2 separate regions of the Homo sapiens genome follow, and region 2 is linked to region 1. Evidence: promoter capture Hi-C in human tissues and cell types (Jung and others, 2019). All regions are on one chromosome and are shown on one strand. Each heading gives the region's core, a stretch centred on a gene start or on the middle of the fragment in contact. The rest is flanking DNA. Distances are from core to core; before and after follow the strand shown. Region 1 holds the start of KCNK13 (potassium two pore domain channel subfamily K member 13). Region 2 overlaps TDP1 (tyrosyl-DNA phosphodiesterase 1).

What was found. The method cuts DNA at HindIII sites, captures the fragments that hold promoters and counts their contacts. A contact is called where the count stands out against the background at its distance.
Region 2: a fragment that was not itself captured here is called in contact with the fragment with the promoter of KCNK13 in region 1 in 2 of the 25 tissues and cell types used here (H1 embryonic stem cells and heart right ventricle).

The regions. Positions count from the first base shown.
Region 1 is chr14:90,058,770-90,065,966 of GRCh38, forward strand. It overlaps KCNK13 (potassium two pore domain channel subfamily K member 13), which reads left to right and starts at 3,225. Exons shown (of 2, transcript NM_022054.4): 1 at 3,225-3,770. The coding sequence starts at 3,437. LOC124903406 reads left to right here. Exons shown (of 3, transcript XM_047432048.1): 2 at 1,633-2,142; 3 at 2,593-2,964. The coding sequence ends at 2,857. RefSeq lists a silencer at 1,528-1,917 and enhancers at 2,166-2,667, 2,668-3,167. The HindIII fragment of the contact is 23,188 bases long and covers 1-7,197 here.
Region 2 is chr14:89,973,571-89,980,767 of GRCh38, forward strand. It overlaps TDP1 (tyrosyl-DNA phosphodiesterase 1), which reads left to right. Exons shown (of 17, transcript NM_018319.4): 7 at 2,211-2,245; 8 at 6,970-7,062. Among named protein-coding and RNA genes, the nearest start is that of TDP1, 21 kb to the left of the region's middle. The HindIII fragment of the contact is 7,845 bases long and covers 1-6,960 here.

The DNA.
Region 1 (7,197 bases), core at 1,975-4,474:
TGGGGAGACAGAAAACCTATGCAACCTTGAAGGAGGTAATGATTTCTCAAAGGGCACCAAACATACAGAAAACATATTTAAGAAAATAAATAGGCAAATCAGAGTTAGAAAATATTTGCAAGATATGTATCTGAGAAAGTACTCGTATCCTGCATATATAAAGGATCTCTATAATTCAGTAACAGAGAAACTAATTTTTTAAGTGGGCAAAATATTTCAACAGAAAATTCACAAGAGAAGGTACACAAGTGGCCAGCAAGCGCATTAGACATCAGGGAAATGCAAATTAAAACCACAGTGAGATATCGCTACATCCACCAGTATTTTTAGACATCAGGGAAATGCAAATTAAAACCACAGTGAGATATTGCTACATCCACCAGTAGTTTTAAAATTAAAATGACTGATACTGCCAAATGTTGACAAAGATACGGAGCATCCAGAACTAGTGTACACTGTCAGTACAGCTGCTTTGGGAAAATGTCGGGCAGTTTCTCATAAAGCAAAATACATACCTACCCTATGACCCAGCAATTCCGCTCCTAGGTCTTTACGTAAGAGATATGAAAACATATGTCTACATAGTTGTACAAGAATGTTCCTAACAGTTTTATTTATGATGACCAAAATTTTCTAACAGTTCTCCTTTCTATCAATAGGAGGAGAATGAATAAACAAACTATGGTATACCCAAACAATGAAAAACTAGCAATAAAGAGGAAGGAATTACTAAGACATATAACATGGGTAAATCTCAAAAACATAATGTTTTCCACCAAAGAGTACATACCGGCATGATTCCATTTATATGGAGATTTAGAACAAAAAAACAGTTCTATAAAAGCGAAAGTAATCGATGGTAGAAAAATTCTGAACAGTGGTTTTCTCTGGAGGAATGTGGGTAGGGAGTTACAGGGAAGGGACTTAGGGGGACCCTGTTGGTGATGTTTGGCTGGTAGGTTGGATAGGTGATTTGCAGAGGTGTACCCATTTGTCAGAACTCACCTAATGATACACTTAAGATTTGTGCATTTCATTGTATGTAAATTTTATCCGAAAAGGAAAAAAATTCTGCAAGTAAATATTGAACCCTACGTAGTGATATGCAGGCAGAAGTACTGGGGATGAGGGCGGAAGTGTACCAAGCTCTGCAACTTACTCTGAAATGCATCCAAACAAGATGGGTTGATGGATGGACAGAGGGACGGGTAGATATCTAATAAATCAAGTATAGTAACATGTTAATTGTAGAATCTAGGTGGTGGGTATACGGGTGTTCACTGTAAAATTCAACTTTTTAGAATGTTTGAAATTTTTCATAATAAAATGGATTTAAAAGGTAATTGCAGTACTCACCCTGGGTGTATACACATGCACCCATTCTCGCGATGCCCCTAAAGCTCTTGCCCCTCAGAAGGCTAGATGAAAGAGGGGCATTGGGGAGTGAGTAACAGAGCCGAGAGGACTGCTAACAGCACCAGGGTTTCTGATGAAAATGCACTCGCCAGAGCTGTGTTTCTTTATTCGAAATCACACGGTTTTACTCAACAGGGCTCCTAGCCCTTCTGTCTCTGCTCCTGGTGCGTAAGGGCGGTGTGTGGGGCTCTGCGCCTGAAACCGCTCTCTCGGAAGGTGGGAAGATGCCCACGTATCCATTCCTCTCCGCGTACAGATTCGCTCCCACACGCCCGGGCGGGTGATTCCGGAGGGCCGCGCGGGGCTGTGTGCGCGGGCGGGGGCGGGATGTGTCTGGAGGGGGCAGAGCGCCCTCTCCCGGCCCCGGAGGGCCCACGCGGACCGGCTGAGCGTCCCACCAGCCGGTTCTGCATCCACTACCCAGATCTGCGCGCCCTGGTGGGAGCACCGCAGCCCCGGGTCGGCCCTTCGAACGCCGAGCGTCTACCCGCGGAGACCAGCGCAGGAGGCGGGCCCGCGCGCAAGGAGGCGGGCGACAGGGTGGAGTCGCCGCAGCTGGCAGCCGCACGGCTCTACCTGTTGCAGCGTCGGAGCGCGCCCGCCTGAGAAGGCAGAGCGCGGTGCGGACCTGTGCTCCGCGCGCCGGCTGGCAGGGCAGGGCCGCGGCTGCCAGGAGGCCCGGGAACAGTCCCGACGGAGCGGCGCGGAGAGGGCGCTCCCCGGAAGGTGAGATCTGAGCGCGGCAGCGGCGCCAGCGCCCGCTACAAGGCGGGGTCTCGGGGAGGGGGCCCCGGCGGTTTGCTGGAGAGCCTTGCTACTGTTCTGCATGAGGTGGGGGATGCCTTCTGCGCGGACCCCGCGTCCAGGCAAAACTCTGGAACGCACTAGGCAGCCAAGCCCGGGGGGAAGAGATGGAACGCTCCAAGGTCAAGGTCTCCTGGCCGCGGAGCCCTTCCAGCCCCCAGTGTTTGGCCTCCTCTCCGGAAGCGGGGCTGGCTCGCGGTGCGCGCTTGGTCCGGGCGGAGCCTACTAGTAGGCGCAGAGGACGCCCCCGCGCAGGATCCAGAGACCAAGGGCGCTCTGGCATGGTCAAGGCGAGGGAGGCTGCCCGGGGGAGAAGCCCCTAACTTCCTTTGCTCCCTGTTCCAACCTCCCTTTCTGGTCTCCTCTCTCCAGCCCGTCCGCCCAACGGATGCGCAGCGTTGGGGCCCGGCCGGAGGTCGGAGCCCTCGGACGCCGCAGCCCTCGGACGCCGCTCAGCACAGCCCCTCTCTCCGTGCGCCCGCCCTGGACCCCCTCCATCCCTAAGCCCCGGCAGCCGATTCGGAGACTCGGGAGGCCACAGGCTCAGCGCGACACCACGACCACAACTAGGAGGCACCATCGTCGATCTACCTGGGGAGGCACCTACAAAGCCAGCAGACTGACACCCGTGTCCTAGCCGTCGGCGGCCTGCGAAGCGATAGTCAAAGGAACCAGGACCCAGGACCCCGGCGCTCTGCTTACCCGCAGACCTCCGGACCGCGCCCCCCCCCCGCCGCCCCGCCCCGCCCCGCCCCGCCCCGCGACCGTCTCTTTGCGGGAAACTCGAGTTGGCTCGAGCTTGCCCTGAAGACGCGCCACGCCCCCTCCCCTATCTGAGCCGGACAGGGAGCCGGGGTGGAAACTGCGCCCGCATCCCAGCGCCAAGCAGACGTGAACTCTGCGCCCGTTCCCCGGGACCTTCAGCGTTAAGGAGAACTCCGAGGAGAGCAGGGGGAGTGGAGGGGAACGGCGGCGACAAAGCGGATTTGAAACTAGGAGTCAAGGAGGACGTGGGGAGCTGGCGCCACAGGAGCTACCGAGGCGGCGGCCGGGGGAGCCTCGCGGCCTGCGGGAGAGCCCGGCGGTCATGGGCGAGCCGGCGGTGGGGCGCCCGGGAGCTGGCTGAGCGCCGGGGCCCTTATTTCCCGGGGGTGTGGGCGAGACTCCGCCGACGCCCGGTGCCGTGGGCCTGGGGGCTGCCCCCGGGGGCCCGGCCATGGCTGGCCGGGGTTTCAGCTGGGGCCCGGGCCACCTGAACGAGGACAACGCGCGCTTTCTGCTGCTGGCCGCGCTCATCGTGCTCTACCTGCTGGGCGGCGCCGCCGTCTTCTCCGCGCTGGAGCTGGCGCACGAGCGCCAGGCCAAGCAGCGCTGGGAGGAGCGCCTGGCCAACTTCAGCCGCGGCCACAACCTGAGCCGCGACGAGCTGCGCGGCTTCCTCCGCCACTACGAGGAGGCCACTCGGGCCGGCATCCGCGTGGACAACGTCCGCCCGCGCTGGGACTTCACCGGCGCCTTCTACTTCGTGGGCACCGTCGTTTCCACCATAGGTAAGTGTGCTGGCCGGACTCGCTGACAACCTCCGGGCGGCCTCCACTTCCTCCGGGGGGCAGGACCGACCCTCTCATCCTTTCATTCATCCATCTGGGCGCCCAGCCAGACTCCACTGACATGAGCTGTCGCCTGATCAACAGGTGGTATTGCCTCCCCGCTGCTCTAATGTGGTCCAGGCACCGGCAGCTTCAGCGTCACCTGGCAGCTTGTTAGAAATGCAGTCTCAGTCCCCTCTGCAGACCTGCCGAGTCAGAATCTGCATGTTAACAAAGTCCCCAAAGGATTGGAATGATCCTTAAATTGGAGACGCTCTGCTCTGGGAGATTTTCAGTCTAATGAAGGAGACACGGCTTGAGTTCATGGGGAAGAAGGCTTTTACAGATAGGGACAGGAAACTAAACATTTACTGAGTCAGTCAGAGGGGAAGTGCAGATTTTAAAAGATTCTGCCCTCGACTTCACACTTACCGAGAAAAAATCAGAACAGCAGACTGAAAGTGAGGAAGCAAAAGTGCCAATGACGGTTCAAAAGATGGAAAATTTTCCACCAGGAAGAACCAGGGAAGTGACCTTTGGGCTGAATCAATTCGTGTTAGGCATAACTTGGGTTTGGGAACTGAAAGCGCGGTTGCACTCTAGAGTAGGAGAGAATCGCACTCAGGGGCCCCATGAGCTGGTTGGAGTGGTGGAAGGAAGACTAGGAAGGTCTGCTGGCTAATGGGATGGAGGCGGGGGTAGGACCTTCACTGACAGACTGAGGAGCTGGAATTTACCTAGAGGCACCTGGGAGCCATTGAGAATTTTTTAGCAAAGATGTAGCACAGCTACAATCAGCTGTGTTTATTTCCCAGCAGAAGGAAAATGATTTGGGGGAGTCTGCGCCACACCCCTAAAGATTGTTCATCCTTGAAGAATAATCAAGTGATTAATGGGGGTTAGGGAAGATGCTGTAGAAATAAATTCTGAGGGGGGCAAAAAGAGACCTGGAGCAGGGGAGGGAGGTTGGAAGAGTTAGACGGAGAGGAAGTGGCCTCCAAGCTGCAAAAAAGGCTGGCAGTTGCAAACAGCCCAGGGTGCATGTGCTGAGCGCTCTGTAGCTACTGCCCCTGTGCACTCTAGAAGAGCTCGCTGGTGAGGTGGGGCGACAAGTTGAGCCTCCTTGAGGCTCCCACACATGGCTGTGCTACATAGACATTCTGCCAGGAGAAGCAGCACAAAAGACAAAAGAGATTGGCTTCAGGTCAGATTCATCATGAAAGACTTCCCAGGGCTAGTCCAGGAATCCAGGGCTTCAGCTGATGCACAGGAGGCGAGGCAGAGGACCAGTATGATTAGGGACACACCGGCTGTATCTGAAGTGCCTGGCTCCCAGCCCCCATCCCATCCCAGATGGTGCGGCCCATCAGCAGGCCATGATGGCACCACCATAACTGGGTATCAGGCAGGAAACCTTGCAGCAGACCAGAATGGGCCCAAGATTGGTGAAGGAGGAATAACACCCCCATGGTTCTCCCCCTGAGCCCACACTATCTGCTGGACTCTTAGCCGTGTTCCACAAGCCCCTCCTCACATCACCTCCCACGTCCCAGAAGACAGTTCCAGAATCTCCACATAGGCAAGACTTGGGATGAACAAACTGATTAGGAGGTGTCACTTTGGAAGTGACCTTGACTCTACTGTGTTTGCATAGCAAGTACAGGATTTTTTTAGATTGAATGGTAACTTAGGGTGGTTTTGATGGGAGATTTGATGGCTGAATCTTTCCCACCACCATGAAAAACCATCTCTTGGTGCTCCCAGTGGGCACAGAGGCAGGAAGGAGCAGAGTGTGTGTGTGGACAGGTGCATCCATGTAGCAGGAACTGAGAGTGGCATGGGTAGGTGGCCATATAGGAACATGGGCTTTGGGGATACGAATATGACAATGTGGCATGGAGGAGTGGAAAGAAACCTGGACAAAGAGTCTGGAGTGGGAGCTTTTCATCCTGCCTCTGTATCTTGGGCAAGCCTCTTAACTATTCCGAGCCCCATCCTTTTCTCATCTGAGGCATCTACAGAGTGCCCACCTTGGTATCTGGCACATCAGCTATTTGGTGAATATTAGTCCTGCCCCCTGCTCCCTCCGTCTGCGTAAGCCTGCCCCTGTCACAGGGTTCTTGTGAGGGACAATGAGCTCTTGTAAGTGCGTGCGTGTTAAAAGGTAAAAAACATGATGTCAGTGTGGGCTGATTTTTATTTCTCATTTGTAACATTTCCTTTTAAATTGTTTCACTAATTGTTGTAATAACAGCACTGGCTAACCTTTATCAGGCCCGTATTAGGCACATACTGTATGATTATTATGTGAATGTGCAATGCAGCTCATTGCTGTGTGACATTCACACTTCATTTCAGCCAACACAACTCCATGAGGTAGGCATAACACTCCCCCGTTATAGATGAAAAAGCTGAAGGTTCAGGTTTTTTGTAAAATAAAGTATAAAGAAGAAAAAAATCAAGTTATATGCAGTAATATCATCCAAATTAACCACTGTTCATGTTTTGGTCCATTTTCTTCTGGTCTCCTTTTTCCTCTGCGTATACTTATATACATATGCATTTTTAAAAATTAGAATTATATTCTATAAACCACTCATATCTTGCATTTTTATTGTAACATTACATGATGGTGTTTTTCCTCTAAAAATTAATTCCACCATGCTTTATTCTGCAAAGACTTTGAGGTAGCAGACAAAGTATACAGGAAAATAATCATAAAATACAAATAAAACTTCAGAACCAGGGAAAAGAAGAACAGAAATACGGGATGCAAGTGGAGCTACGAAGTTGCTAGAGAGGAACTTTGTCTTAGTTTGGGTTCCCTTAGAAGCAGAGCTTGAGCCAAGAATTTGAGTGTAAGCAGTTTGTTGGGAGGAGCAAGGGATACAGGTCGGTGCAAGGGAAAGTGAATCGAGGAAGGAAAGTAAGTTAATCCAGGATACGCTATTAAGGCAGGTGCCACAGTGGGCAACTGGTACCTAATCCCAAATGGAAGCTTGGAAGCAAAGCAAAGCTCTTGACCCAGATATCCCATGCAAGAAAGCTGGGATGTTTACACAACCACACCTGTCAGGAATTGGTTAAAAAGCTGTCTGGGGAGGATGAGAAAGGAGCACGGGGATGTAATTTCCAGGTACTTCTGGCCTTATTTTCTTTCATGGACAGCCCAAGGGTAGCCCTCACGCAGAGATAGGCTCTGCTGTTGGAAATGAGGCCAGTGTGCCAGGAAATGATAACACGATCCCAAGGAATGGTGGGGAATCCCATGGAAGGCAGAGAACCAGCAAGCTTCAGATTTGGTTTCAGGCTTCATGGCAGACAGAGTCATGACCCATACTAGAATTCTTAATATCAGAAACGAGGAAACATAAACCTTTCCAGTACC
Region 2 (7,197 bases), core at 1,788-4,287, 85 kb before region 1:
TGAGTCATTGAAACTGAGACACATTAGTCAGAGAATCGGTGGCTGCTGACCCTCTCCCATTTTGCAAATGTGGGACCTAAGGGCAGACATTGAGACCTTGTGGTGGTCAGAGTCACATTGCCTGGGCTCAGTCCCGGCTCTACGTGTGTGTATTAGTCTGCTTGGGTGCTATAACAAAATTACCTGGGTGACTTTTCTTGGACTTGGGTCGCTGAAACAACAGACACTTATTTCTCACAGTTCTGGAAGCTGGGAATTCAGGATCAAGGTGCCAGTCAGTTCAGTTCCAGGTGAGGGCTCTCTTGCCAGCTTATAGATGGCCACGTTCTCACGGTGTCCTCATGAGGGAGAGGGAGGAAGACAGACACATAGGCTGTCTGGTAGCTCTTGTATAAGGACAGCAGTCCTGTTGGATCAGGATCCCACCCTTATGACCTCATTTAACCTTAATTACCTCCATAAAGTCCCTCTCTGCAAATAGTCACATTGGAAGTTGGGGCTTCAACATATGAATTTGGTGGGGGACAGAAGTGTTTAGTCTACAACACTTATTCTGGGCTTGTCACTGGCTTGTCACCTAATTTCTTTATCTTTGAAATTGATTGCTAATGCTGTTCATCCTAGAGTTTACTAAAGGACTTGGTGCACTAGCCCAAAAACAGCACCCAGTAAACAATATCTATTGAAGCTATTATCCTTGTTTTTTGTGCTTAGACTTACCCAGAAGCATGTAACTTTTAGCAAACGAAACAAAAGCCAGGTCTCTTGACCATTGTTCTTTCTCAGCTAAATATCAGTTTATAGAGTGGCAGTCTTCCTTCTCATTTGGTAATTTTGAAAACATGAAATAGAGTTCCCTGCACTTTCTTCTGTGGCCAGAATGCACAGATGCATGCTGGTCTGTGAGCATCTCCATTCCAAACAGGAGCTGTGTTGTAACTCACCTGTGTATTCCAGTCGCCCATTACTGCCCCCAGCAAAGTTTCACCCATGTCATGTGGTAAGGAGGCTGGGGTAGGTAGTGGGGAGAGGTTGCAGTAGTGATTGCCACGATTATAGAGTGCCTATTGCATGCAGGCCCCCGTTGCTCAGCATTTTACATATGTGATCTCGTTCCTGACAACTCTGGATCTCAGAATGGTACCGTTTTAAAGAGGAGAAAGCTGAGGCATAGAGTTAGATGTATTTTCCAGAGTCATACAAAGTTGTGAAGGCAGGATTTGAGCCCATGTACTGCGTTCCTAATTGTGAAACTTTTACGGTTATTTAAACTCTTTCATAATCTGCATCTTGTGACATATTCTGCTTAACCAAGATCTGGCATTAGTGGGTATTAGATAACATGTTTTCTATATACATACCCTCCATTAGTTTGTAAAGGTGTCATTTTATAACATGAAAATGGATTTCATATGTTTTTATTTTCAGCACTTGCTATGCTAATATAAGAACATTTCTATTTTAATTTAACATCCTAAGTCTTTATGTTGCCACCACTTTCAGTGTTTCTTTTTTTGTTTTTGGAGACGGAGTCTCGCTCTGTCACCCAGGCTGGAGTGCAGTGGCGCTATCTCAGCTCACTGCAAGCTCTGCCTCCTGGGTTCACGCCATTCTCCTGCCTCAGCCTCCTAAGTAGCTGGGACTACAGGCGCTGGCCACCACGCCTGGCAAATTTTTTCATATTTTTAGTAGAAACGGGGTTCCACTGCGTTAGCCAGGATGGTCTCCATCTCCTGACTTCGTGATGTGCCCGCCTCAGCCTCCCAAAGTGCTGGGATTACAGGCGTGAGCCACCGCACCTGGCCTTCAGTGTTTCTTTTAAATATGCTCTGAAAACTGTGTACCATTAATTTCTGTATAAGCCAAATATCTAAAACTTTGCATAGAGACTCACTTGTTTTACTAGTTTTTTGTCAACTAAAGAATTTAGGCTTCTCAGTCCTAATTACTGTAATTAAAAATGTAGTATATATTCTGTAGTGTATAATCATTCTGGGTAACAAAATTTGTGTTTTTTTTTTTTTTTTTTTTAATGAGCGTCCCCAGATGCTATTATAAAAGCTGTCTTGTTATTCAAGGGCTTGCCTGGTAGAGATCAGTAAAAATAGTTTTAAAAAAAAAAGTTGACCTGATTGCTTTCTAATGTAATTTCCAGTAGATATGGATATTAGTGAGTTGTTTTTAAATAAATGACTTCTTTTTCATCCTAGGCAAAGTTGGATATTGCGTTTGGAACACACCACACGTAAGCACTTTTTGTGAAATAGGGGAACCCCTCAAGCATTGTCATTTGTCCATTACACGGTTATTCTTAGGAGAGACTGAGCATGGTAGGCCCACCTAGGATCTAGCACAGCGATGCTTAACTGAGCCTGGGGGAGCTATTCTTTTATTTAATGCTCTTATAAAAATTATTTGGTCTTTCCTTTTAATTTTATAGATCAGGAAACTGAGGCCCAGGTTTAGGTATGTGATTTTTCCTTGGGCCAGTAGTGGAGACAGGAATAGAACCTATTTATTCTAACTTTAATTAATATATACACACAATTTTTCAAGATGTGGTCTCACTCTGTTGCCCAGACTGGAGTGCAGTGGCATGATCACAGCTCACTGCAGCCTCCAACTCCTGGGCTTAAGCAATCCTCCCACCTCAGCCTCCCGAGCAGCTGGGACTACAGGCACACGCCACCATGCCTGGCTAATTTTTTTGTAGAGACAGGGGTCTCACTTTGTGACCCAGGCTGATCTCGAACTCCTGGACTCAAACAGACCTCCTGCCTTAGCCTCTCAAAGTGCTGGGATTACAGGCATGAGCCCCTGTGCTGGCATTAACTTTAGCTTTAAATTTGTTCTTGTTTGCTCATTGCTAAAATTTACCTTATTATTTCCTTTGGTCCATTCACCACTACCCCCTCGCTCCTACACACATACTTTGCAGGTTAAACTCAACAGAGCTCTTTTTTTTTTTTTTTTTTTTTTTTTTTTAGACAGAGTCTCGCTCTGTTGCCCAGCCTGGAGTGCAGTGGCACAATCTTGGCTCACTGCAACCTCCATCTCCTGGGTTCAAACGATTCTCCTGCCTCAGCCTCCCAAGTAGCTGGGGTTACAGGCCACTGCCACCACACCTGGCTAACTTTTATATTTTTATTAGAGACGGGGTTTCACCATGTTTGCCAGGCTGGTCTCAAACTCCTGACCTCAGGTGATCCACCCTCCTCTGCCTCCCCAAGTGTTGGGATTACAGGTGTGAGCTACCATGCCTGGCCAAGAGCTCTTAATTCAGAGTTTAAAATGCCTAGGAGGCTGGGCGCTGTGGCTCATGCCTGTAATCCCAGCACTTTGGGAGGCCAAGGTGGGTGGATTATTTGAGATCAGGAGTTCGAGACCAATCTGGCCAACATGGTGAAACCCCATCTCTACTAAAAATATAAAAATTAGCCGGGCAGTAGTGGGACATGCCTATAATCCCAGCTACATGGGAGGCTGAGGCAGGAGAATCGCTTGAGCCTGCAAGGCGGAGGTTGTGGCGAGCCAAGATCATGCCACTGCACTCCAGTTTGGGTGACAGAGTGAGACCCTGTCTCGAAAACAAAAGAAAATGCCTAGGAAAGTAATTACAGTTGAACTTTTCCCAATTAAGTATCTGTAGTTTACATTTTGTTGAAATGACATTATCTTGTAGAAGATTGAGCTCGTGTCTTGAAATTACTTTTAGTTGCTTATTTAAAAAAAAATTTTTTTTTTGTTGAGACAGTCTCGCTCTGTTGCCCAGGCTGGAGTACAATGGCGCAATCTCAGCTCGTTACAACCTCCGCCTCCCAGGTTCAAGCAATTCTCTTGCCTCAGCCTCCTGAGTTGCTGGGACTACAGGCGTGTGCCACCACGTCCAGCTAATTTTTGTATTTTTAGTAGAGATGGGGTTTCACCATGCTGGCCAGGCTGGTCTCGAACTCCTGACCTCAGGTGATCCACCCGCCTCGGCCTCCCAAAGTGCCGGGATTACAGGCGTGAGCCACCGCACCTAGCGTATTTTTAAAATGTTTTAAGAATTAAATACTTCTTATGTTCTTGACACAGCTCAAGAGGATATAGAGTTTTTATTCTTACAGCTTTTTCTTTGGTGAGAGAAGCAAGACAAACATGTGAATTAGAAAAGGAGAATCACCTTCCAGATCATAGTGATGGAGGGTAAACTGCCTTCCCCACCTCACAGGGTAGAGCTAGAAACAGTGAACGAGGCAGTCTTTGAGACTGCATACACTTTGGCACACAAGCCCTGCTCTGTCCAGTTTTGGTTGGATGCCATGCAATCCCGTGGTCTGTCTCACAGTGTTTTAGAATGGGAAAGCTCTTTGGTTTCCTCTAGAGCTGGGAGCAGAGTTAATTCTTATGGCTCCAAGAATCGATAGAGGGGAAAGAGAAAGCCAAAGCAGCTGAATGTCAAATATCCAGATCCAGGTGGTGGCCAGTAGCAAACCACAGGATGGGCGAGGCATGCCTCTTTCCACTAAGATCTGTAGTCAGGCCCCCACCATGCATCATTTAGTCCTCTTTCCCACCAAGGCCATGTCTCCCCCCACCTCACCTACCCCTGTACCAGTAGCATGAAGTGTTCACCGTTGCTGCCACCAGCCCTGTGAAACCATGTGTGGTGAAAGGAGTGCCCTGGCATCTGGCATTTGTGATCCCAACAAGCTCTTCCGCTGGCCCACTTTGTGACCTTGGATAATCCCTGTTAAATGTCCAGCTGTAGATTCCACAATTGTAGAATGAGAATAACTCCTCTTCTGTATTGCTGTGAAGACTTGGTGTGGTAACATACGACAGAGCTTCTAGGATGGCACCTGGTAGAGAGGTGCTTGCCATATGTTAGTTCTCTTCCCCCTTTGCAGGAATAGCTGCGCATTTGGGTTGGGTCCCTTTTGCTGCCTCACAGCTTAGCAGACAGTATGGCAGGTCAGCATTCTTCAAGGGAGATCTCATTCCTCACCCTTTTCTATCCATTTTTAACTGTGACCTTATTAACACTACCATTTTGTCTATGAAAAGATGAATATGGCTACTCTCAAGTTCATAATTCTATTTGATAGCATTCATTGACATTAGTGTGTGATTTGCCTGATAATCGATGTCTTGACTAATGGAAATATTTGTAAACGTTCTATCATGAATCCATAACTGACTTATTCTTAATTACAATCAGCTGCTGATTTGGCAACTGTGTATGTAAATTTGCCCAGATTTCAGGGAGCACATTTCACAAATGGAAAGAAGATGGCACAGCAGCTGTCATTTCTCCAGCTTTGCATTAATTTACTGTTTGCCAGCTTGGGTTAATTTCTCGTTTTGGCAAGAGCTAAATATCTCATTCTCTTGTCTCTTCTCGTACCCTTTTTCTTATCTTTTTATGATAATTTCATCCTGCCCAGATAATGTTCATGTTGTTTATTTGGAGAGAGCCAGTGGTTCACTTTTTTTTGCCATGTGTGAATTGAGTTTCATCAGTAAGTATTAAGTAGCATTTTGGCCTCAATAGAAATGATAAAATAAGTCAAGACAGAGTTACAGCCATGAGAAGTGACACTTTAGTTGGAGAGAGAGAACTTAGATTCCTGAAATATTGAAATAATCCTATTGAAAACAACAGGGAGATAAAAATCATCCATTATTAGATGAGAAAATAAAGCTGTGTACCAAAGGAGTAATAGGAATGTACAGGTGAGAGTGTTTCACATTTAACAATTTTTTTTTTTTTTTGAGACAGAGTTTCACTCTGTCACCCAGGCTGGAGTGCAGTGGTGCAGTCTCGGCTCACTGCAACCTCCGCCTCCCAGCTTCAACTGATTCACCTGCCTCAGCCTGCTTAGTAGCTGTGATTACAGGTGCCCACGACCACACCTAGCTAATTTTTATATTTTTAGTGGAGATGGGTTTCACCATGTTGGCAAGCCTGGTCTCAAACTCCTAACCTCAGGTGATCTGCCAGCCTCAGCCTCCCAAAGTGCTGGGATTACAGGCATGAGCCACCGTGCCTGGCAGCAAAATGTATTTTTGCATTTCACTCACAATAGTCCTGAAGTGGGGTTGATCCTTAGAGATACAAGTGGAAAACTGAGGCTCGGGGACATTGAATGGCTTACCTAGGGTCAAAGGGCTTCTAAATGACAAAGTCTGGAGCTCAGGTCTTCAGACTTCAAATGGAAAGCTTTTATCTATATCCTATTCCCTCTCTCTCACTGCAATTAAAATAAGAGAAATGTGTTCGACTAGAGGCCTGGGGAGGTCACATGGAAAAAGAGTGGACCCCACTAAGTCTGATTTGGGTTAATGAAGAATAGGCAAGACTTACCCCAAGCCCAGATAACACACTTTTGACAAGTGTGGCATCTATGGATACAAAAAACCACTAATGGTAATGAAGCATCTTTTAAACTTCTTAAAATTTCAACTCATAATAAGAAATACACTTTACATTTCAGTGTATTGTGCACTAACATACCTTTGTGCCAAAACAAAATTTCATGAACCAGTAATTAAATATATACAGTATACCAATTTATGCTATTTTAGTTGTTTAAAAAATGCCAGCCATGATGCAGCAAGAGGTTGTTGACCATACTTTGAATCTCAAACACCAGACCAGAAGGTTCCAACGGTCCCTAGTAGTAACAGGTAATGCTGAATAGATAATAAGGGGCCAGGCTGGAGGGATGTGAAGTGCCAGGACTGGCACTAGGGTTGAAAGTTCTTTTACCACCAAATACTCAACCTTTCTGAAAGGTTTTCATCCTATCACTTAGGCAGACTTTCATCATGGTAATGTATAGAAGGGAAGATTATAAATGTTAAGTTTGGGTAATATGAGAGTTTAAAAAAATTCCTTTAGCTATGTATTACATTTGCATTGGAAAGGTATTACATATTTTGAAAGTACTATTAATGCTTTTTGATCCTTTGCTGTTTTTAAAGGAAAATGATGCTGCTGCTCTATGAAGAAGGCCTCCGGGTTGTCATACACACCTCCAACCTCATCCATGCTGACTGGCACCAGAAAACTCAAGGGTTCGTAGGGGCCTGCTCACTTCCTGGCAGTGTGTGTGTTGATAAAGGTCAAAAGCCAGAACATTCACTTTATTCTTTTTTCTATTTTTTTTTTAAGTTGTAAAAATAACACACATGGCCTAGAAAAAGAGTTGT